Regions from separate parts of the Homo sapiens genome. Here all the other regions are linked to region 6. Evidence: promoter capture Hi-C in human tissues and cell types (Jung and others, 2019). All regions are on one chromosome and are shown on one strand. Each heading gives the region's core, a stretch centred on a gene start or on the middle of the fragment in contact. The rest is flanking DNA. Distances are from core to core; before and after follow the strand shown.

The links. Contacts are between HindIII fragments. The study calls those that stand out against the background at their distance.
Region 1: a contact is called between a fragment that was not itself captured here and the fragment with the promoter of AXIN2 in region 6, in 1 of the 25 tissues and cell types used here (spleen).
Region 2: a contact is called between a fragment that was not itself captured here and the fragment with the promoter of AXIN2 in region 6, in 1 of the 25 tissues and cell types used here (H1 embryonic stem cells).
Region 3: a contact is called between a fragment that was not itself captured here and the fragment with the promoter of AXIN2 in region 6, in 1 of the 25 tissues and cell types used here (heart left ventricle).
Region 4: a contact is called between a fragment that was not itself captured here and the fragment with the promoter of AXIN2 in region 6, in 2 of the 25 tissues and cell types used here (aorta and heart left ventricle).
Region 5: a fragment that was not itself captured here is called in contact with the fragment with the promoter of AXIN2 in region 6 in 2 of the 25 tissues and cell types used here (H1 embryonic stem cells and IMR-90 fibroblasts).

What each region holds. Positions count from the first base shown.
Region 1 is chr17:65,298,677-65,302,074 of GRCh38, forward strand. No RefSeq gene overlaps it. Among named protein-coding and RNA genes, the nearest start is that of LINC02563, 160 kb to the right of the region's middle. The HindIII fragment of the contact is 6,261 bases long and covers 1-3,398 here.
Region 2 is chr17:65,242,273-65,245,689 of GRCh38, forward strand. No RefSeq gene overlaps it. Among named protein-coding and RNA genes, the nearest start is that of RGS9, 110 kb to the left of the region's middle. The HindIII fragment of the contact is 4,622 bases long and covers 1-3,417 here.
Region 3 is chr17:65,883,661-65,887,234 of GRCh38, forward strand. All of the region lies in intron 20 of CEP112 (centrosomal protein 112), which reads right to left. The region is part of intron 1 of LOC105371867 (a long non-coding RNA gene); the gene reads left to right. Among named protein-coding and RNA genes, the nearest start is that of CEP112, 310 kb to the right of the region's middle. The HindIII fragment of the contact is 5,519 bases long and covers 1-3,574 here.
Region 4 is chr17:65,854,586-65,857,944 of GRCh38, forward strand. The region is part of intron 20 of CEP112 (centrosomal protein 112); the gene reads right to left. Among named protein-coding and RNA genes, the nearest start is that of AXIN2, 290 kb to the left of the region's middle. RefSeq lists an enhancer at 273-1,472. The HindIII fragment of the contact is 7,184 bases long and covers 1-3,359 here.
Region 5 is chr17:65,954,409-65,958,132 of GRCh38, forward strand. The region is part of intron 18 of CEP112 (centrosomal protein 112); the gene reads right to left. Among named protein-coding and RNA genes, the nearest start is that of CEP112, 240 kb to the right of the region's middle. The HindIII fragment of the contact is 5,186 bases long and covers 1-3,724 here.
Region 6 is chr17:65,559,963-65,563,670 of GRCh38, forward strand. AXIN2 (axin 2) reads right to left here and starts at 1,686. Exons shown (of 11, transcript NM_004655.4): 1 at 1,488-1,686. RefSeq lists a silencer at 1,700-1,849. The HindIII fragment of the contact is 24,248 bases long and covers 1-3,708 here.

The DNA.
Region 1 (3,398 bases), core at 758-3,257, 260 kb before region 6:
CACTTGCAGCTTTCATTTGCAGGGTCAAATGGAAGCAATAACCAATCGTTCACTTTGATCGTGAACTTATGATGCTCCCAGCTTTCTCAGTACTTGGCGTGGTTATCTCATTTCATTGTCATGACCGTCCTATGACTGTCCCTGCCTTTCAGATGAAGAAGCGGAGGCCCAGAAGAGAAGTTATGTAACTAGCTTGAGTTCATTCCACTAGGGAGTGATGGGTGCAGGCTACAGACTCTAGGCTAGGGACACTAGGGAGTGATGGGTGCAGGCTAGGGTGCACACTAGGGAGTGATGGGTGCAGAAGATGCTTCAGACTACATCTCCAACAGCAAGTGTTTTTATGGGTGTCCTTTTTTTTTTTTTTTTTTAGACAGGATCTTAGAGTTTCATTCTGTCACCAAAGCTGGAGTGTAGTGACGATCATGGCTCACTGCAGTCTTGAACTCCTGGGCTCAAGCAATCCTCCCACCTAGGCCTCCCAAGCAGCTGAGAACACAGGTGCTTGCCACCACACTTGGCTAATTTTTTAAAATTTATTTTTTGTAGAGTTGGAGTCTTGCTATGTTGGCCAGGCTAATCTCGAACTTCTGACTTCAAGCCATCCTCCTACTTCAGCCTCCCAAAGTGCTGGGATTACAGGCATGAGCTGCCATGCCCAGCCTACAAGTACCCTTTAAAAATGTAGCCTCATGTCATACAGTACAGCATGAAATTTGCAGGTGATTGTTAACAACAAAAACTCCTTAAATGACTGAAGGCATTGAGCTGTCACCAGGTTTGGGTTCAGCAATGTGCCCTATACAATGTAATATCATCACTCCCCCTGTTACCTCAGGTGTTGTGGGCTCAATTGTGTGTCTCCTCCCCCCACCCCCAAATTTTTGTGTTGAAGTCCTAACCTCCAGTACTTCAAGTTGTGACTGCATTTGGAGATACAGTCACTGAAGAGGTAATTAAGTTAAAATGAGGTCATTAGAGCAGGTCCTAATTTACTATGACTGATGTCTTTATAAGAAAAGGAGGTTGGGACACAGATACCCTCAGAGTAAAGATCATATGAAAGCAGAGGGAGGCAGCCAGGCGCAGTGGCTCACGCCTGTAATCCCAGCACTTTGGGAGGCCTTGGCGGGTAGATCACTTGAGGTCAGGAGTTTGAGATCAGCCTGGCCAACATGGCGAAACCCCATCTCTACTAAAAATACAAAAATTAGCCAGGCATTGGTGGCTCATGCCTGTAGTCCCAGCTACTCGAGAGGCTGAGGCTGGAGAATTGCTTGAGCCTGGGAAGTGGAGGTTGCAGTAAGCCAAGATCATGCCACTGCACTCCAGCCTGGGTGACAGAGCAAGACCCTGTCTCAAAAAAAAAAAAAAAAAAAGAAAAGACAGGGAGAAGACAGCTGGCTGAGCCACGGAGAGAGACCTCAGAAGAAACCAACCCTGCTGACACCTTGATCTTGGACTTCCAGCTTCCAGAACTGCAAGATAATAAATTTCTGTTGTTGAAGCCACCCAGACTGTGGTACTTTATTATGGCAGTCCCTTACAAACAATACACTGGGCAATCCTCAAAATAACCTCTTATTAACCCCCTTTTAAAAAAGAAGAAACAGAGACTTGGAGGGTCTTAGTCACTTGCCCACTGTCACACAGAGAGCTGGTGGCAGAAATAGATTCACATCCCTTTCTTGTCATTCAGAGTCCCGTGCTCCTTTAACGTCCCTCCAGAACATAGTGGAGACAAAGAAACACAAACAGTGGGCAACATTTGCCTGGAAGGTCAAACCCTTGCTGACATAGGCTGTGTTTCCATCCTGCAGCTCAGCAGACCTTCCCATCCCCTAATGTGGAGACACAGAGTTTTATTTAATAGGGAACCCAAACATGGGCAGGAAGACCCTGTCAATTGCAAAGCAAACAGGGGCAGAAAGGCTTGGCAAGGTGCTCTTAAAATGCAAGTCTGGGGCCAGGTGAAGTGGCTCATGCCTGTAATCCCAGCACTTTGGGAGGCTGAGTAGGGTGGATCACTTGAGGTCAGGAGTTCAAGACCAGCCTGGCCAACATGGCAAAACCCCGTCTCTACTAAAAATACAAAAATTAGCTGGGCATGGTGGTGCATGACTGTAATCCCAGCTACTTGGGAGGCTGAGGCACGAGAATTGCTTAAACCCAGGAGGTGGAGGTTGCAGTGAGCTGAAATCACACCATGGCACTCCAGCCTGGATGACCGAGAGAGACCCTGCCTCAAAAAGAAATAAAAATTTAAAAATAAAATAAATGCAAGTCTGAAAAAGCCTTACTGGTTCCTCAGGGGGATAATGCAATGCGTCAGTGCATCTTGAACTATAAGAAAATTCCTTCAGATGAAAGAAGAACATGCTGGCCATCACCATGCTAGGAAAAATGTGGATTTAGGCCTTCATAATCAGACCTCCACTTCAGTACAGGGGCATGATCACCACTGAATTAATAGTAAAAGATGATGAAGTTCCACAGCCCAGCTGCAGCTCTACAGGTCAAGGTAGGAGATGGAGTCTACAGAAGAAGGCAGTCCTAGGTGCTAAGGGCTCTAAGGGGCCCCCAGAGATCATCAGGATCTGGCTTCCCTGGAGGAAGCAGGTTTCTGGATGGGGAAGTGGCATCGGGAGGGGGTTGTGGGATTTGCTCATAGATCTTGGATCGCAGGAGATCCAATGTCCTCTGATTTCTGCCCATGAAGGGAACAGTCTTTGCATACCACAGTGATGACTACCACTTATGTCAGGTGCTGTGAGTACCAAGTCCTTTATATCTATTTTATTTCAAGGCTTGGTAACATTTCAAGATATTCTTATTTTACATGGGAAGAAACAGAAGCACAGAGAGGTAACTGAACAGAAGCCACAGCAATCATAAAAAAGGGCAGACCCAAGCCTTGAAACCAAGTCCGCTTTATTCTAAGCTTCCTGCCCTCTAAAATATGCCGTGTTTTCTCCTGACTCCCTATCTTTTCTTTGCTTTTCAACCTTCCCAGTGTTCAGCCTGACGCTATACCCAGTATGGGTGCCCAGTTCTGCTGAATCAAATAACAGCTATGGTAAAACACAACCCAAAGAATCCATCTCTCCATTGGACCAAAGCATTATTTGAGTGTTTCTCAAAGTGCCCCTTGGGATGCATTGTTCCTCACCAAAAGTGTTCTATGGTCAGATAAAAGTGGGAGCCATGCATATTACAGCCCCTTCTCTGAGAACCAGAAAGCACAACAGAGTGTGGAAGGAGCAGAGGATGCCGGATGAACTCAGCCCAGCCCAGCCCAGCCTTTGACTTCAGGAGGAGCTCAGCAAATATTTATTGACCAAACAAGTGAATGAATGAATGACCGTGTTGAAACATGTTCATTTGGCTTACCTGAGTGT
Region 2 (3,417 bases), core at 136-2,635, 320 kb before region 6:
ATTGTGCTCCAGTTCCAGCCTGAATGACAGAGTGAGAGCTTGTCTCAAAAAAAAAAAAAAAAAAAAAGGAAAAGAAAAGAAACTAAAAAGAGGAATCGCTGGGTTAGAGTATGCATATTTTAAGACCAATCTTCCATGCCAAATAGTCTTTTTAAAAAATTTATTTTATTATATTTGTTTGTAGAGACAGGGGTCTCCCTATGTTGGCCAGGATGGTCTCAAACTCCTGGGCTCAAGCAATCCTCCCACCTTGGCCTCTCAAAGTGCTGGGATTACAGGCATGAGCCACCATGCCTGGCCACCAAATCACCTTTTTAAAGTCTGTACTAATTTAGATTGCTACCAATAATGCATGTATGAGGATAATCATGCCCTTACATCCTAGCTGGAACTGTTAGGAACACTTTCACATTGTTGGTGCTAGCATTTACTGCAGCAGTGAGACCACGTGGGGCTGAGCACCACATTCTTCTGGAGGCCAAGAATGTTAGGGGCTCTGGTCCTCCTGCAAACTCCTAACCCTGGGAGGACAGAGATGATAAGGATGACCAGAGAGACTGCAGGGCATGAGCCTCCCTGCCTGTCCTCTGGTGTATCCTAGCCTGTGCCAGGTGATTCAGCCTCAGTGGGGCTTTTGGTGCTTGTCTTGTGCCACCAGCATCAGTGGTCCCAGTGTAAAGCTTAACAGGAAATCAGAGAATCTGTTACATTTCACTCTGTATCTTTTTTTTTTTTTGAAACCGGATCTCATTGGTTGCCCAGGCTGGAGTGCAGCGGTGTGATCAGGGTTCACTGCACTTAAACTCCTGGGCTCAGGTGATCCTTCCACCTCGGTCTCCAGTGTAGCTGAGAATATAGGCATGCACCACTATGCCAGGCTAATTTTTTTTTTTTTTTTTGGTAGAGACAGGATTTTTCCATGTTGCTCAGGCTGGTCTCAAACTCCTAGGCTCAAGCGATCTGACTGCCTTGGCCTCCCAAAAGTACTAGGATTACAGGTGTGAGCCACTGCACCAAGCCTGTATTATTTTATTTATTTATTTATTTGTTTGTTTGTTTTTTGAGATGAAGTCTTACTCTGTCGCCCAGGCTGGAGTGCAGTGGCCTGATCTTGGCTCACTGCAACCTCCACCTCCCAGGTTCAAGTGATTCTCCTGCCTCAGCCTCCTGAGTACCTAGGATTACAGGTGCATGCCACCACACCTGGCTAATTTTTATATTTTTAGTAGAGACAGGGTTTCACCATGTTGGCCAGGCTGGTCTCGAACTCCTGACCTCAGTGATCCACCTGTCTCGGCCTCTCAAATTGCTGGGATTACAGGCATGAGCCACCACACCCACCCTGTATTATTTTAATATGTGATTTATCTTTCTGAAAGTTTGTGAAGTCGTTGGGATTGGGGACTATGCAGTCCTCTTTGCATCCCTAGACATAGAAGAGCCTGTTCCTGGAAGGGACGGAAGTGGGAAACTGTTTTAGCCTCCTTGTTGGGGTTCCGCCCTTGAGGCTGCTGGTGCCCTCATGTCTTCCCCAGTAACACATTCTGTCCTGGAAACATAAGTGTGACATCCCACTCCCCTATGGAGTCAGGCTTCAGGATGTCAGTTACCAGGGCAGGTTGGCCTGACCCCAGAAAGTGACTCAGATTCCCCAGGCACACCCTTGTCCCTTGTTGTGGGAAGTCTCACCCCGGAGAGGCTGACTCCAGGGTTGTTGAAATAGAGCAGCCAGGTTCTGCCGATGACTGCTTAAAATTCATGTTGCCATGGTAGCATGGCATTAGGCCACCGGTGATCCTGCTGCACAAAGCTTTGATCTCGGAGAAGGCAGAGTTTCTTTTGCTCTCTAGCTGGTTCTAAGGGGACTGCCTTGGGACCAAGCTTTGGCTTTGCTCCTGGGCCTGGGGATTGTCCTAGAAGCAGAGAACTGGGGACAGCAAGACAGAGAACAAGACCCTCAGAAGTGGACTAAGCCCCGAGACTGCGATTCCAGTCGGAGGGACTTGGCTGGAAACCCTAAGGGCAAGAGATCTGGGTCTGAAGAGAGTGCAGTCAGATAGATCTGTAATGAGGGGATGTATATGCACTGCTTGACTTGAGAGAAAAGTGCAAATGAGATGGTCTGTGTGTGTTTTTAGTAGCAGAGCTAAGAAGAGGGTGGCTTATAAATGGGCTGGCTCAGCATGTCTCAGCATTGTTTGTAACTTACGCATTCATTCAACACCCATTGATTGAGGATATACTATGTTGGTGGTGCCGGAGGATGTGAATGGCTCACATGGCTTCAGTCCCTGAGGACTTTCCCAGCTGTCAGGGCATGAAAATGCACTAAAATAATACAAAGCAGGCTGGACGTGGTGGCTCACACCTATAATCCCAGCACTTTGGGAGGCCAAGGTGGGAGGATCACTTGAGGTCAGGGGTTTGAGACCAGCCTGGCCAACATGGTGAAACCCTGTCTCTACTAAAACTGCAAAAATTAGCCGGGTGTGGTGGCACGCGCCTGTAGTCCCAGCTACTCGGGAGGCTGAGGCAGGAGAATCACTCGAACCTGAGAGGCGGAGGTTGCAGTGAGCCGAGATCGTACCACTGCACTCCAGCCTGGGTGACAGAGCGAGACTCTGTCTCAAAAAAGTAAAAAAATGATAAAAATAAAAAATAAAATAATGCAAAGCAGAATGTGTTCAATTGTCTGGAGATGATGACATTTCAGAGGGAAAGAATCACCCCACCGGTGCAATCAGGGTATCCCTAGATGAATTTGGGTTGGACCTCAAATGACAGAGAGAGAAACAGGAAGCATCTAGTTGGAGGGTAGGGCAAGAACAACAGTGTGGCGAGGGGATGGGGGCAAATGTGAGAACCACAAGGAGTTTGGTTCATTAAAGGGATGGAAGGAGATAATATTGTAAAGGTAGGTTGATCCCAGAGCTGAACTGACTTTAGACTTAATTTGACAGGCCTTGGGGAGCCACAGGAGGATTTTGGGCCTGGCAGTGGCTGATTGGAGCTGCACTTTGAAAAAATGAATCTGGGTGCAGCTGTAGAATGGACTGAGAAGTTAAGCGGCTATAAGTTTTTGAAATCTCCATGGGGCTGAAGAGGTAAGGAGACTGTGTTAGGGTGACATGATGGCTCTGGGATGGAAAACGAAAGAACAGCCTGATAGGGATGAACAGGACCTGGAATGCGACCTGGTGGAGGTGGGAAGGAGAAATGGAGTCAGTGGAGGCTGAGATGCAAAACCTAGTTGTATTCTGGCACTGCTATAAAGAAATACTGGAGACTGGGCAAATTATAAGAAAAGAGGTTTAATTGGCTCGTGGTTCTGTAGGCTGTATAGGAAGCATAGCAACATTAGCTTCTGGGGAGGCCTCAGGAAGCTCCCAATCAGGGCAGAAGGCAAAGTGGGAGCAG
Region 3 (3,574 bases), core at 522-3,021, 320 kb after region 6:
CCAGCCAGAAGTTTATATTTTACTCTAAGTGCAAGCTATGAAAGGATTTTAAGCAGGGGAGTTTTCTAACCCAATGTACATTTTGAAAAAGATCATCATGTCTGTTGAGAAAAATAAGAGATAAGGCAAGATTATCAGTTATAAGATTACATAGAGGCCTGGACTAGAGGAGTGGGTGGCAGTGAATAAAGTGAATGGATTGGAGATCAATTTGGGGGACTGAATCTATAGAATTTACTGACAGGTTAAGAGAAAGGAAAAAAATCAAGAATTATTTCCAAGTTCTGCCTTGAGCACTGAATGTACGGTACATAGGGAGGTTGGGAGGGAGAGGCTTCAGTTCTGGACCTATGAAGTTTGAGGTGTTTGTGAACAAGCTAATAGAAGATGTCAAGAGCACAGAACACAGATGAGAGACGGGAACTTGAAGGTTATTAGCATATAGTTGTTAAGGCCACTGAAATGCAGGTAATCACTTAACAGAAACATGAATACAGAAAAAAAAGTGGGGGTAGACTCCAGTGTTCAACGTGAAACAGAGGAGCTAGTGGAGAAAACAGAAACTAACGTGGAGAAGTAGAAGTGGAAGAAGCAGGAGGAAAACTGGGAAGATACAGATAATTTGGTAAGACAGCATGAAAGCGTTATTTGCAGTGATGAATATCTAGCTACCTGGTGAAAAGCAATGAAGACTAGCTAGTCAGGGTAATAAAAAAGAGGGAACTAAAACAGAATTACAGAGTGAACAGAATTATACTGTGAGAAATCCAACTTCTTCCATGTAATTCAGTAAACTCTTACATATCTACAGAAAATATGTAAGGAGTAGGTAAAATATATTTCCTGATACATCCTATACAAAAGTGTCTTATTTCAGGTTTTCTTCTAAAGAGGGAAAGACAAGTCTATGAAACATTCTAGAATATGAGGTAGGCTATAGACAGTCATCTATAGGACTTTTCCCAACAGTTAATGTTTTGCAAATTTAAAACTATACATATTCGGAATTTATTCCAACTATAGTTTGGATATTAGTTTGTAGTTTCTTTTTTTTTTTTCTTTTTTTTTTTTTTTGAGACGGAGTTTTGCTCTTGTTGTCCAGGCTGGAGTGCAAGGGCGCCATCTCAGCTCACCACAACCTCCGCCTCCTGGGTTCAAGCAATTCTCCTGCCTCAGCCTCCTGAGTAGCTGGGATTACAGGCATGTGCCACCACCCTGGCTAATTTTGTATTTTTAGTAGAGACAGGGTTTCTCCATGTTGGTCAGGCTGGTCTTGAACTCCTGACCTCAGGTGATCCACCCTCCTCGGCCTCCCAAAGTGCTGGGATTACAGGTGTGAGCCATCGCGCCCGGCCTAGTTTGTAGTTTCAAATAAAAATCCTATTTGAAGAGCTTGAAAAGAATGTTGTATAATTATTAAGTCTGCACAATTAAATGGTACCTAACCTCCCAAGTAAATGGAAGAACGATTTTTATATTCTGAGAAATAGCAGATTTCTAATATAAAAGCAGGTGCAGATTATCTTGAGAAAATTTTCTAATGGATTGAGATTATTTATACTGATTTATATTTAGAACATTAAAAATTATCACTTTTTACTTTAAAGTGAACTTGGGTTTATCTTCTAGGTTTGTAATGTCCCTAAACTACTCATTCAGTTACTTAACTATTTGGCTGAAGATAATATTTATCATTCAACAGCAACAGGGCAAAGACGATGTTGAAATCTGCTTTCATAAATGACTTTTTTCCAGATCAATAGCAGAGTAAGGGGAACTATTTTAATGCAAAACAAGTCATTGTTTTAAAGTTATGTTGTTTTCCTTTTTAAAAAAAAAACGGTTTGAATTAACTGCCTATGCTTCATTACCCTGCAATGTACTTCAACACATTTACACTGCAAGAAGAATATGTAATAAAAGAGAAGCTGCATCTTCAAATCTTTCTTGTCAAATTTGAAGAGACACCAATCAACCAAACACCTCACTAATAGTCATGAGACTGCTGTTTTAATTAGCTGGTGATATTTCTGACTAAGACTCTCAGATGATGAAACTGTTTTTCCTTGTATTGAACCAGCTTGGCCCAGACTAGCCTGTCCTGCAGTGACAGGTATATTGAATACAAATCAGACAGCACAGCTTTAAATCTGTGTTGCAGCTCTCATTTCCAATTCGAGAACTGTACTATAATCATAAGCTTCTGGTGGATGAAAGGAAATCAGCTCTCTGAATATTAGCTAATGCCACATTTGCAAGTCCTGAAGAGATCTGTGCTGTTAAAAAAAATAGATCATTTCACGTGAACCTATATATATGAATTGCTTTGTACTGCTCAACTGATAGAAGCAATGCCTGTGCTGGGATTAAACCCTTTTCATCATAAAACCTCATCTGGTTCGGAGTCCAAGTCCATCAAACCTTTTCCCTTTAAAGTCCCGCCTTTGGTTCCACATCAATTTATTCAAACCGCAGCTGGGTGGCTGAAAACGAAAGGACAGCATCATTTAAACCAACCATGTTCCTAACTTGAAAGAGGGGCTATAATTAAAAAAATGGGCATAAAAGAATGGAAATGGGATAATATTTTTTAATGGTAGTTCAAAGGCTGACAGATGTCAGAGCCTTTGAAGATGTCAGTACACTGAGTAAGAAGTTGCCATAAAAGAGCTTGCCAGAGAGGTGAAGCAGCTTTTTAATGGCTAAAAAAACCCTTGCAGACACATCCTTGTGTTTTTAATTTGTCAGAGTTTCTGCAGTATTTTCTGATTAATGACACATGATTATAACGGCATAGCAGGCATATTTTTATACTTGGTTAAATGAATAGTTTATTTCACATTCTTTTAGAGCTAGATAAGAATAGGGACACTTTCCTAGGAAGTCCAAAACTATTCTGATTGATTGACATATTTATGCTAATTTTGTGGGACTGGCCCAATTCGGAATTACTATATGTTGCCAGCTTTTGTTCTTTAATAGTCTGTTTGCTAATAACATTACAATTCACATGTGGTAGTTAAAATGCAATTCACTACAGTTTCATTCTTTTCATGTACATGGAACAATATGTGCCTGAATAATTAATTTGTGCACCAAGTCATGTCAAACCAAATTAATGTTTTAAGACATTCCTGAGCTCAATCTACACAACCGCGGGCTGCCATAGGGTTCAGAAGAGAAAGGGTTGCTTAGGGGAAAAAAATGCAGCTATAACTATAATATAACATTAATGCTTACTCAAAAAAACGAGCTGGAATACTATGTGCAAAATGCTGGGGGACACTCTTCTAAGATTTGGGGGAGGGACTTAGAGTATTTCCAAACTATATGCCCTTCTAAATAGTTCTAACATGTCAATTTGATTTGTTCTGTGAAATTGCCCTCACAATATTCATGAATGTTAACCACAAGTCTCTAGTGAGTAGTAGCAAGAAAAAAAAAACAGGTTTCCCCACCAATGGATATGCCTGTAACTTATAACCATGATGAGGTGCAGGGGAGACAGAGTTCATGGCTTTGAAGTGAGACACATTCGGGTTCACATCCTAGCCCTTGCACTTCAGAGCTGCAT
Region 4 (3,359 bases), core at 799-3,298, 290 kb after region 6:
GCCTTTCTAAGAAAAGCTTACTTGAACTAGTCCCAAAGGAATATGTGAGAGGACTTTATATAAAAGGCTGATCCTTGTAAACCTGTAGTGGAAAAATTAGTTATTTTTTCTTCAGGAAATCTATGCACTGTTTTAACATCTATTTGTTTCTCTATTTCATAGATTGATATCTGTGTATCAATAATCAGCTGTGGATCAATTGTCCGTGAAAACAGTCTTTTACCTTTTGTTCTTTGTTTTATAATGATTCTTTTGAACCCAAGAGAAGAGATAGTCAATGCAATCAGATTCTGAAATAGAGGATACATCTTCTAAAAACAGATAGACTTTAGCAGTGACAACAGTTATGTGTTTGGGAGGCAGAACATTCTTTTTTTAAAAAAAAGCTCAGGGATATCAACATGGCAGACAAGGATGGGTTGCTGGCTCCCTTCCCCAAAATCAATCCTGGAGAAAGCACAGGAAGCATGAATCTGAGATACTAATAACTATAACAATAATAAACATAACAAAAGCAAATTTTGAGAAGCTCCTGGGTGGAATAAAGACAGTCCTAAGGGGGTACAGCCTGGGGAAGAAAATAATAGAAAACCGCTGTAAGAAGGTGGGTTGCAGGAATGCTTTACCTTCTGCTCTTGTCTCTCTCTTTTGTAGCCAGGTAAAATCATATCTGTTCCATTACCATGTTGGGAGCAAGAACTCAACATAGTGTTGACATCAGTCAGTCAATACCAAGGAAAGCAAAGCCCTCCTTGGGTGAGGAGTTGAAGAAAACAGGCACAGACTTCTCTGAACTTCCTGGGTATTCCCCCTTCCAAAGGCTTCCCTCCAAACTCCCAGGACTAGTGACTCAGTCATTAGACACTCACTTCCAGGAGCTTAGGTAAATTCCCGACCAGCAGGTTTTCCTGATGAAGTAACTGTGAAAGGGAGTGGTACGGCAATGAAGGGCTCTGTCTTGGGGTTCATAATCTTGTCCTTCTATAAGCTCATCCAACAGGTCAGGGACTAAAGGTGGGCTTCTGCTCTTCCCCAGTCAGGATATCTGATAGTCCCAGGGGAAAATGGGCTCCCTGGCCAAAGTAAATAAACCTGAGGAGCAAAACTACTACCAAAAAGAGACACCTAAATAACATATATTATCTGAAGCAGTATAATTGGAACAGATGAAACAAGAATTTTTTAAGTGCGTAATAGGCCGGGTGTGTTGGCTTATGCCTGTAATCACAGCACTTTGAGAGGCCAAGGCAGGTGGATCACTTGAGCCTAGGAGTTCAAGACCAGCCTTGGCAATATAGTGAGGCTCCTTCTCTACAGATAATACAGAAATGAGTCAGGTGTGGTGGGGTGTGCCTGTAGTCCCAGCTACTCAGGAGGCTGAGGAAAGAAGATCAATTGAGCCCAGGAGGCTGCAGTGAACCGTGGTCATACCCTGTACTCCGGCCTGTGTGACAGAAGGAGATCTTATCTCCAAAAAAAGTCCATAATAAACATACAAATAGTAATATATATATACTTAATATACTGAAAAGTGTAATGGAAGAAGTTACAGACATGAAGCTGCAATTAATGTCATAGAAGAAGGAAAAAGTGAAAATGATAGGAAAAAGAGCAAGTTAGCTAAAGCCAAAGAATAGAATTGCGCATTGGAAGGATGGTAAGATTGAAGAACTCCCTGGGAGGCAGCAGAGAAAGATAATAATACAGAAAATGTAAAAGAAAAGCTAATATTTGTGGAGGACAGAGGAAGTGACAACATCTAAATAATAGAGTCTGAGAAAAATAGAATTGGAAAGATTTTATCCAAGCTCAAGCTGATTTGAAAGTCTGCTTTTTATCACATACTGTATCATCTCAAAGTATTAAGAATTTCTCTTAAGGAAGAGTACATATTTATTGTACTTTATTAATTTGTTATTGTGCGTTTCTATCCCCTAATTTTCACTATGGTTAGTACAAAGTTAACATCCAAAAGCCATAAGTCCATAATGTCTTTTTTTGAAAATTAAAAAATACATACATTTTTATAGATTTGGGAGCATAAGTACAGTTTTGTTACTTGGATATATTGCATAGTGGTAAAATCTGGGCTTTTAGTGTAACTACCAACCAAATATTATACATTGTGCCCACTAGGAAAATCTTTAAAAAATGAGCAAAAATGTTAGTTTTCCAAAAGCAGTGAGACCATCCCAAATCGAGTTTCAATCTCTGTCAATGTAAATCAAAGTATTGTTATGCACATTGTCATCACTGTGTAGATACTGTTCTATATTTTCACACACCCAATTTTAATTTAATTCCCATTTATTAGCATATTTGTCATATTTAGTGGCTCCCTAGTATTTCACCCTTCCAGTACAGGCATATCACAGAGATATTGTGTGTTTGGTTCCCGACCACCTCAATAAAGCAAATATTGCAATGAAGTGAATACTGCGATGAAGCAAATATCTCCATAAAGTGAGTCACATAAATTGGTTGGTTTCCCAGTGCATATAAAAGTTATAGACTATTCAGGAGTGTCTGAGGGAGAGAATACAGTCATGGGTTCTTGGTTTCTGTTTCTGGTTGGGCCAGTAAAGCCCCTTCCTCATCCCTCTTTTCTGCTTATCACTAAAGACAGAAACTTTAAAACCATGGCTTCTGGCTGCTAAAAGCCTAAAGCAAAACAAAACAGAACAACAACAACAAAATAAGGTGGGTTGGACAAGCTTGCAGTTTATTCAGTGAGCATTATGTCTAAAAAACAATGTGCATTCCTTCATTTAAAATACATTATTGCTAAGAAGGGTTAATGATCATCTAAGCCATTCTTAAGTCCTAATCTTTTTGCTGGTGGAGAGTCTTGTCTTGATACTGATGGCTTGCTAACCGAACTCCTGACCTCGTGATCCGCCCACCTCAGCCTCCCAAAGTGCTAGGACTACAGGTGTAAGCCACCACACCTGGTCAATGTTTATTATTTCAATGCATTAATGGAGTAAATTATATTATAGGTTATTTTCAAACGTTACATCAACCTTAGGTTACATTCAATTTTTTCCATAAGATAATATTACTGGATTCAGTTTGCTAATAATTTGCTAATGATTTTTGAGAGACTGACCTGAGGGATTTTTTTTTTTGGACTCTCCTTGGCATATTTTTAAATTGATGTTATGCTAGTCTCATAAATTCAGTTGCTGAATGATGCTACCTTTTTCATCCTCTGAAAGAATCAGTATAAGATGAGTTATTTGTTTCTTAAATATTTAGTGGAACTGGCCAGTAGGGCCATCTGGGCTTGATATTGTATATCTGGAAAACATTTTGACTACTATTTCAATTTTTCTGATGGTTATAGGATGATTCACATT
Region 5 (3,724 bases), core at 455-2,954, 390 kb after region 6:
AAGGAACCAGAAAAAAAATTCTGGTAATATGACAAAACAAGATTCTTTAACTCCTCCAAGAGATCATACCACCTCACCAGCAATGGATCCAAGCCAAGATGAAATCTCTGAATTGCCAGAAAAAGAATTCAGAAGGTCAATTATTAAGCGAATCAAGGAGGCATCAGAGAAAGGTGAGGTTCAACATAAAGAAATCAAAAACATGATACAGAATACAAAAGAAGAGTTCTTCAGTGAAATAGACAGCATATATAAAAAACAATCATAATGTCTGGAAATCAAGGACACACTCAGAGAAATGCAAAATGCACTGGAAAATCTCAGTAATAGAATTGAACAAGCAGAAGAAAGAACCTCAGAGCTCAAAGACAAGGCTTTCAAATTAACCCAATCCATCAAAGATGAAGAAAAAAGATTTTTAAGAAATGAACAAAGCCTCCTAGAAGTTTGGGACTAAGTTAAACATCCAAACCTAAGAATAATTGGTGTTCCTGAGGAAGATGAGAAAGCTAAAAGTTTGGAAAACATATTTGAGGGAATAATTTAGGAAAACTTCCCCAGCCTTGCTAAAGGCCTAGACATGCAAATACAAGAAGCACAAAGAACACATGGGAAATTCATCACAAAAAGATCATCGCCTAGGCACATAGTCATCACGTTATCTAAAGTCAAGACAAAGGAAAGAATCTTAAGGGCTGTGAGCCAAAAGTATCAGGTAGCCTAGAAAGGTAAACCTATCAAATTAACAGCAGACTTCTTGGCAGAAACCCTAAAAGCTGGCAAGGAGTGGGGTCTTATTTTTAGTTTCCTTAAACAAAACAATTATTAGCCAAGAATTTTGTATCCAGCGAAAGTAAGCTTTATAAATGAAGAAAAGACATAGTCTTTTCCAGAAAACAAATGCGGAGAGAATTCGCCAATACAAAGCCACCACTAAATGAACTGCTAAAAGGTGTTCTAAATCTTCAAACAAATCCTCTAAATACACCAAAGCATAAATCTCACAGGACCTATATAACAATAACATAATTAAAAAACAGTAGGTATTCAGGCAACAAATGGCACGATGAATAGAATAATACCTCACATCTCAATACTAACATTGAATGTAAATGGCCTAAATGCACCACCTAAAAGATACAGAATGGCAGAATCGATAAGAATTCACCAACCAAATTTCTGCTGTCATCAGTAGACTCACCTAACACATAAGGACTCACATAAACTTACAGTAAAGGGGTAGAAAAAGATATTCCATGTAAATAAACACCAAAAGCGAGCAGGAGTAGCTATTCTTATATCAGACAAAACAAACTTTAAAGCAACTGCAGTTAAAGAAGACAAACAGGGACATTATATAATGGTAAAAGGACTAGTCCAACAGGAAAATATCACAATTCTAAATATGAATGCACCTAACACTGGAGCTCCCAAATGTATAAAACAATTACTACTAGACCTAAGAAATGAGACAGGTGGCAATGCAATAATAGTGGGGGAGTTTAATACTCCACTGACAGCACTACACAGGTCATCAAGACAGAAAGTCAACAAGAACAATGAACTTAAACTATACCCTACAACAAATGGACTTAACAGATATTTACAGAACATTCTACCCAACAACTGCAGAATATACATTCTATTCAGAAGGACATGGAACATTCCCCAAGATAGACCATAACAGGCCACAAAACGAGTCTCAGTAAATTTAAGAAAATCGAAATTATATCAAATACTGGTGGGAATGTAAAGTAGTACAACCACTATGGAAAACACTGTAGAGATTCCTTAAAGAACTAAAAGTAGATCTACCATTTGATTCAGCAATCCCACTTCTAGGTGTCTACCCAGAGGAAAAGAAGTCATTATATGAAAAAGATACTTGCACATGCATGTTTATAGCAGCACAATTTGTAATTGCAAAAATATGGAACCAGCCCAAATGCCCGTAAGTCAACGAGTGGATAAAGAAATTATGATATATATACATACATACATACACACACACACACACACACACACACCATGGAATACTACTTGGTCATAAGAAGGAACAAAATAATGGCATTCACATCAACCTGGATGTTACTGGAGACCATTATTCTAAATCAATGGAAAACCAAACATCGTATGTTCTTACTCATAAGTGGGAGCTAAGGTATGAAGACACAAACACATAAGAATGATACAATAAACTCTGGGGACTCAGGGGGAAGACTTTGGGTGGGGGAGGTGAGGGTTAAAAGACTATACATTGAATACAGTATACACCGCTAGGGTGATGGGTGCACCAAAATCTCAGTAATCACCACTAAAGAAATTATTCATGTAACCAAGCACCACCTGTGCCCCAAAAACCTATTGAAATAAAAAAATAAAAAATTTAAAAATATATACATAAAAATAAAAATGTTAAACTTGATCAGCTATTCCACTCCTAGGTACAGTAGTCCCTCCTTATATGTTCTAAGACCCTCAGTGGATGTCTGAACTTTGGATAGTAACAAACCCTATATGCACTATGGTTTTTGCTATATAGCTGCATTGTATAGGGCAGGTAGGGTATACAGCATGGATATGCTGGATAAAAGGATGAGTCATGCCTTGGGTAGGACAGAGCAGGACGGCATGAGATTTCATCATGTTACTAAGAACAGTGCACAATGTAAACCTTATGAATTCTTTATTTCTGGAATTTTCCATTTAATATTTTTGGACTGTGGTTGATGGAAGGTAACTGAAACCATGGAAAGTGAAACTTTGGATAAGGTGGGACTACTGTACTTATTGGAATAAAATGGAAACATATATCTACAAAAGTAAACGTAAAAAAATAAAACGCTAAAAAAGAAAAAGTCAAAATATAGCTGTCATATAATTTGTTAGTTACACCCCATTTGGATTTTACCCATTGACCTGTCAGAGATGGAGAAAAATATATGAAAACATCCCATGACTATCTATGTCCATTTCTCCATGTGTTCCTAACATCTTTTCATATTTCGATTGAGTACTCTTGCCTTTAGCATGCAAAAATATATCCCTTTGTCCAGTTTATTGACTTGTATTGATTTAATTTGTATGATAGTGTTACAATCCTACTTTCCTTTTTTTCTGAATATAAGTGATATATTTTCATCATCCATTTATTCTAACTTTTGTGTTAACTTTATTTTAGTTATTAGTTTTATAAATAGTATATTTATGGATTTCAGTCTTCTAATCAATACCATTTTACTAGAAAAATTTAACCTATTAATGTTTATTATTACAATTATATACTCTATCTTATTTTGGACATTTTGTTGTATTTCTGCTTCTGTTCCTTTGGCAGCCTCTCCTCTCAAGCTTTGCTTTTTAACTTTTCAAGACTTTTATGAGAATGTACAACTTGTTAATTTTATTAATGCTCATATTTAAACATTACAAAATTATTTTTACCTACATTTCCCTAATTTTAAGAATCTTATGAGTCTCACATATTTATGACAAAGAGTTTTAGTATATTTTGCTTCTCCAACTCTTGCTATTCATCTACTTTTGATCCTTGTTAATGTAATCTAGGGATACAAATTCAAGTTGTTAATACATTTGTATTTTCTGTTTTATATACCTTCCTTTTCAAAAAATCAATTAATATTAGAATTCTATTCTTAAGTAGATTTGTAACAATTATTTAAATTTGTTTCTACTTCTTTGGGGTTCCAGGTTTCTCTACTCA
Region 6 (3,708 bases), core at 436-2,935:
GAAGGCCGCCGAAGCCAGGCTCTCATGTCCTCCGAGCCCCTCCGGCCCGGTCCCCCGGCCCAAATGCAACTGAACGCCTCCAGAGCCCTGGCGGGCACACCTCGAGGCCGGAACCCCGGGACACGCCAGCAGCGCCCCGAGCCCGGGCGGGGGGTCGGTCCCCGGCGCCGCCGTTTGCAGAGGCGCCCGCAGAAAAAGCACAGAAAGCAGCAGCCTAGTCCAGAAATGGCGACGCGCGGAGTCTCTGCCTCTCCGCAAAAGGGGCCGGGGCGGCCACGGGCGAGGGGCCCGGGCCGGGAGGAGGGACGCGAGGGACACGGGCGCCCCGGACTTGGGCCGGTCCTGCGCGCAGACTGAGCCTCCGCCAGCGCTGTGGGCCCCTTAGCGCGGACCCGCGGCAGGGAGGGGAAAAGGGGAGGGGGAAGAGAAGTAGGAGGAGAGGATGGGGCGGAGGAGAGGCGGGGGGCGGGGGAGGGCAAGCGGGGGGCGCCGCTACCCTTTCATCCCACCTCCCAAAGGCACTCCCGCGCGCACTCACACGCCGACTCACATCCATAACCGCGACAGCGACGCGACCCCCGGGGGGTATCTGCCCCCTCTCCGCCCCCGCCACTGCCGCCACTCGGATAAGTCTCCTCTCTGGGCCCCCCGCCAACCCGGTCACCGCGCTGGGGAGGGGGCTCCGGCGCAGGGCGCGCAAGGCTGCCCGGCCAAGCCCCCCGGAACGCTGGGCGCCGGGTCCGCCGCTCCCCTCCGCGCCGGCCCCTAGCGCGCCCCGAAATAGCCGGCCTGCCAACTTCAAAGGGCCGCCCCGCACATCAAAGCGCGCGGTCCGCCCGGCCGCCTCGGCCTCGGCACTCACCATTGATCCCCGCGCGCGCTCGGCGGCGAGACCTCGCAGGCGCCCCTGGCAGGGGCCCGGCCCCGGCCCCCGGCTCGGCTCGCGGCGGCAGCCCCGGGCCCCCCCGGGCCGGCCGCGGCGTCGGGGAACATGGGGAGTCGTGCGGCGGGGGAGGGGGTGCGGGAAACAACAATCCCGGGTTCAGAGCGAAAGCCACCGGCCGGGGAGGGGGAACGGCGCGCCCCGCCGCCCCTTTTATGCAAAAGATCCGAGCGGGCCTCCGCCCCCGCCCGGCCCGGCTTTCAACGCAGGTCCTGTTTCCAGCAGTCACTCGGCGCACCAAATGTCCTCCGGGCGCTTCCAACAAAAACTGCGCTGTGGATTTAACTGTGCACTTCAAAGGCGCGAGCCGAGCGCACGGTCCTGAAAGGGAGGTACGCGCCGGCCGCGCCCCGGGCCGCCCCCCGCAGCCCCGCCACCGCTCCGCAGGGCCGCCCCGCCCGCGCCCCCCTCCAGGCCCGGCCTCCGCCTGGCCGGGCCCCCTCCCGCCCCCCGCGCCCACGCCGCGGCTCGGCGCGACCTCGCCCCCTGTAAGAGGGGGGCTTTCTTTGAAGCGGCTCCGCTGGGGCCGAGCTTCCACCCCCACCTTTTACAGCAGGGCCTTCGGCGGGCGCCTCGGCCGCCGGGCGGCCCCGAAATCCATCGCTCTGAGGGGTTATTTTTATTTCCCGGCTCTCGGGCTGTTACTGAGTTGCCAGGACCTTATCAAAGCGCAGCCGGCTCCAGCCGACTCCCCCGGGCCAGGCTCGCGGAGCCAGTGATCCCGCCGCGCCAATCACAGCCGCGCTCGGCCGGCCCGCGCCGCCCGCCTTAAAGGGACAGCGCCCCGCGCCCGCCCCGCCCCGCCCCGGCCCGCCCCCGCCGCACGCTCCGCTCCCGCGTTAACCCTTCCCCGGCCTCTCCTCCGCCCCCTGCCAGCCCCCCGCGGCCCCGAGGGCATTCTCAGCCCGAGTTCTGATTTCTTCTTTTAAGTTCTCCGGCCTCTTTGCTCCCGCCTCCTCCCCCTGCCTGCCCTCGCTCTCCCCGGCTCTGGAATGCAACAGTTTCTGGTAGCATTATGGCCATCGCAAGAACTGCAAGCAAGCAGATTTTTTTTTTTCTATCATCAAACGCTTTTCTACCTCTATTCAAGTTTCCCTGGGAATTTGGGCTTGGAGGACTTTATAAAGGGAGTTCCGGCCCTGGGGTTGGCTGGCCCGCTGTCATAGGGCGGACTCGGGCCCAGCCGCTGGAGGCGTGTGCATGCCTGTGCGCGCTTGTGCACGTGCATCTGAGTTCGGGTAAATATAGGACTGCAGTTGGTGGATGAATTGCGTTTGTGCATGTGTGAAAGTGGGGTGTGAATCCGCCAGTATAGGCCTGAGTGCTAACACCAGTTAGGAGGCATACCTCAGTGCCCTGAAGACCTAGGTCCAGCTTCCTAACCTGCTGGCCATAAGACCCTCGTAGCGGCACACATTGGCCATCTCTCCCAAACAACTGCATACCCGTTACTCTTCCAAAGTCCCCTCTTCTGCCATATGTTACATATTAAACCGATAGGAATATCTTTTTTCCCACTCCAAACGACAAGGCATGCATGCCGTTTTAATGTATCGAAAACTCCTCACCCCATTGTCACCTTTGAATTTCTCCCACATTTGCCCAAAAACGTTTATAAGGCACACACAACCTTCTCTTCTCCGTTAAAATGAGAAAATATGTCACAAACCCAGAGCATTGTGTATTTATTCTGCTGCTGCTATAGAATGATTCCTTATGTTATGAGCGAATAATTAACTTTTCTTCCTTTTAAAAAACAAAGGGCCGGGGACGGTGGCTCATGCCTGTAATCCCAGCATTTTGGGAGGCCCATGCTGGAGGATCATCTGAGGTCAGGAGTTCGAGACCAGCCTGCCTAATATGGCGAAACCCCGTCTCTACTAAAAATACAAAAATCAGCCGGGTGTGGTGGCACGTGCCTGTAGTCCCAGCTACTCGGGAGGCTGAGGCAGGAGAATCGCTTGAACCTAGGAGACGGGGGTGGGGGGGTTGCAGTGAGCCAAGATGGCACCACTGCACGCCAGGCTGGGTGACAAAGCGAGACTCCCTCAAAAAAAAAAAAAAAAAACACACACACACACACACATAAAGGTGTGAACCAAAGAGATCCAAGAAGTGAAAGGCAGAGTCCTGGCCTCAGAGCTGTGCAAGGCTCTTACTCTCCAACTTAATGGATGACGAGCCCTTTTAAATGCGAGATGGCCTGTCATTAGGCCTTCAGAACTTTAAAACATGCAAGAATTGTGGCTCTATCTAGGTATCCATAGAAAAAGAGAAGGAAGAGGCTGGGTGTGGTGGCTCACCCGTGTAATCCCAGCACTTCGGGAGGCCAAGGCAGGCGGATCACCTGAGGTCAGGCATTCGAGACCAGCCTGGCCAACATAGTGAAACCCTGTCCCTACTAAAACTACAAATATTAGCCAGGCGTGGTGGGGGGCGCCTGTAGTCCCAGCTACTCGGGAGGCTGAGGCAGGAGAATCATTTAAACACAGGAGGTTAAGGTTGCAGTGAGCCTGGGCGACAGAGCAAGACTCCATCTCAAAAAAAAAAAAGAAAAGAAAAAAAGAGGAGGAAGATCCACCACCCATGATCTGCTGGAAAGGGGCAGGTGGCAGGACTGTGCGCCACCTGCCCTCAGCCTAAGGGACTGTGACAAGGGACTAGAAAGCTCTTAGACTTTCTAGTCTAAGACTCTGGACTCTGGCTCGTGGGTGCCATGACAGGTGGCCGCTCCTCCCCAAAACCTGCCTTTCGGTGCCCATGGT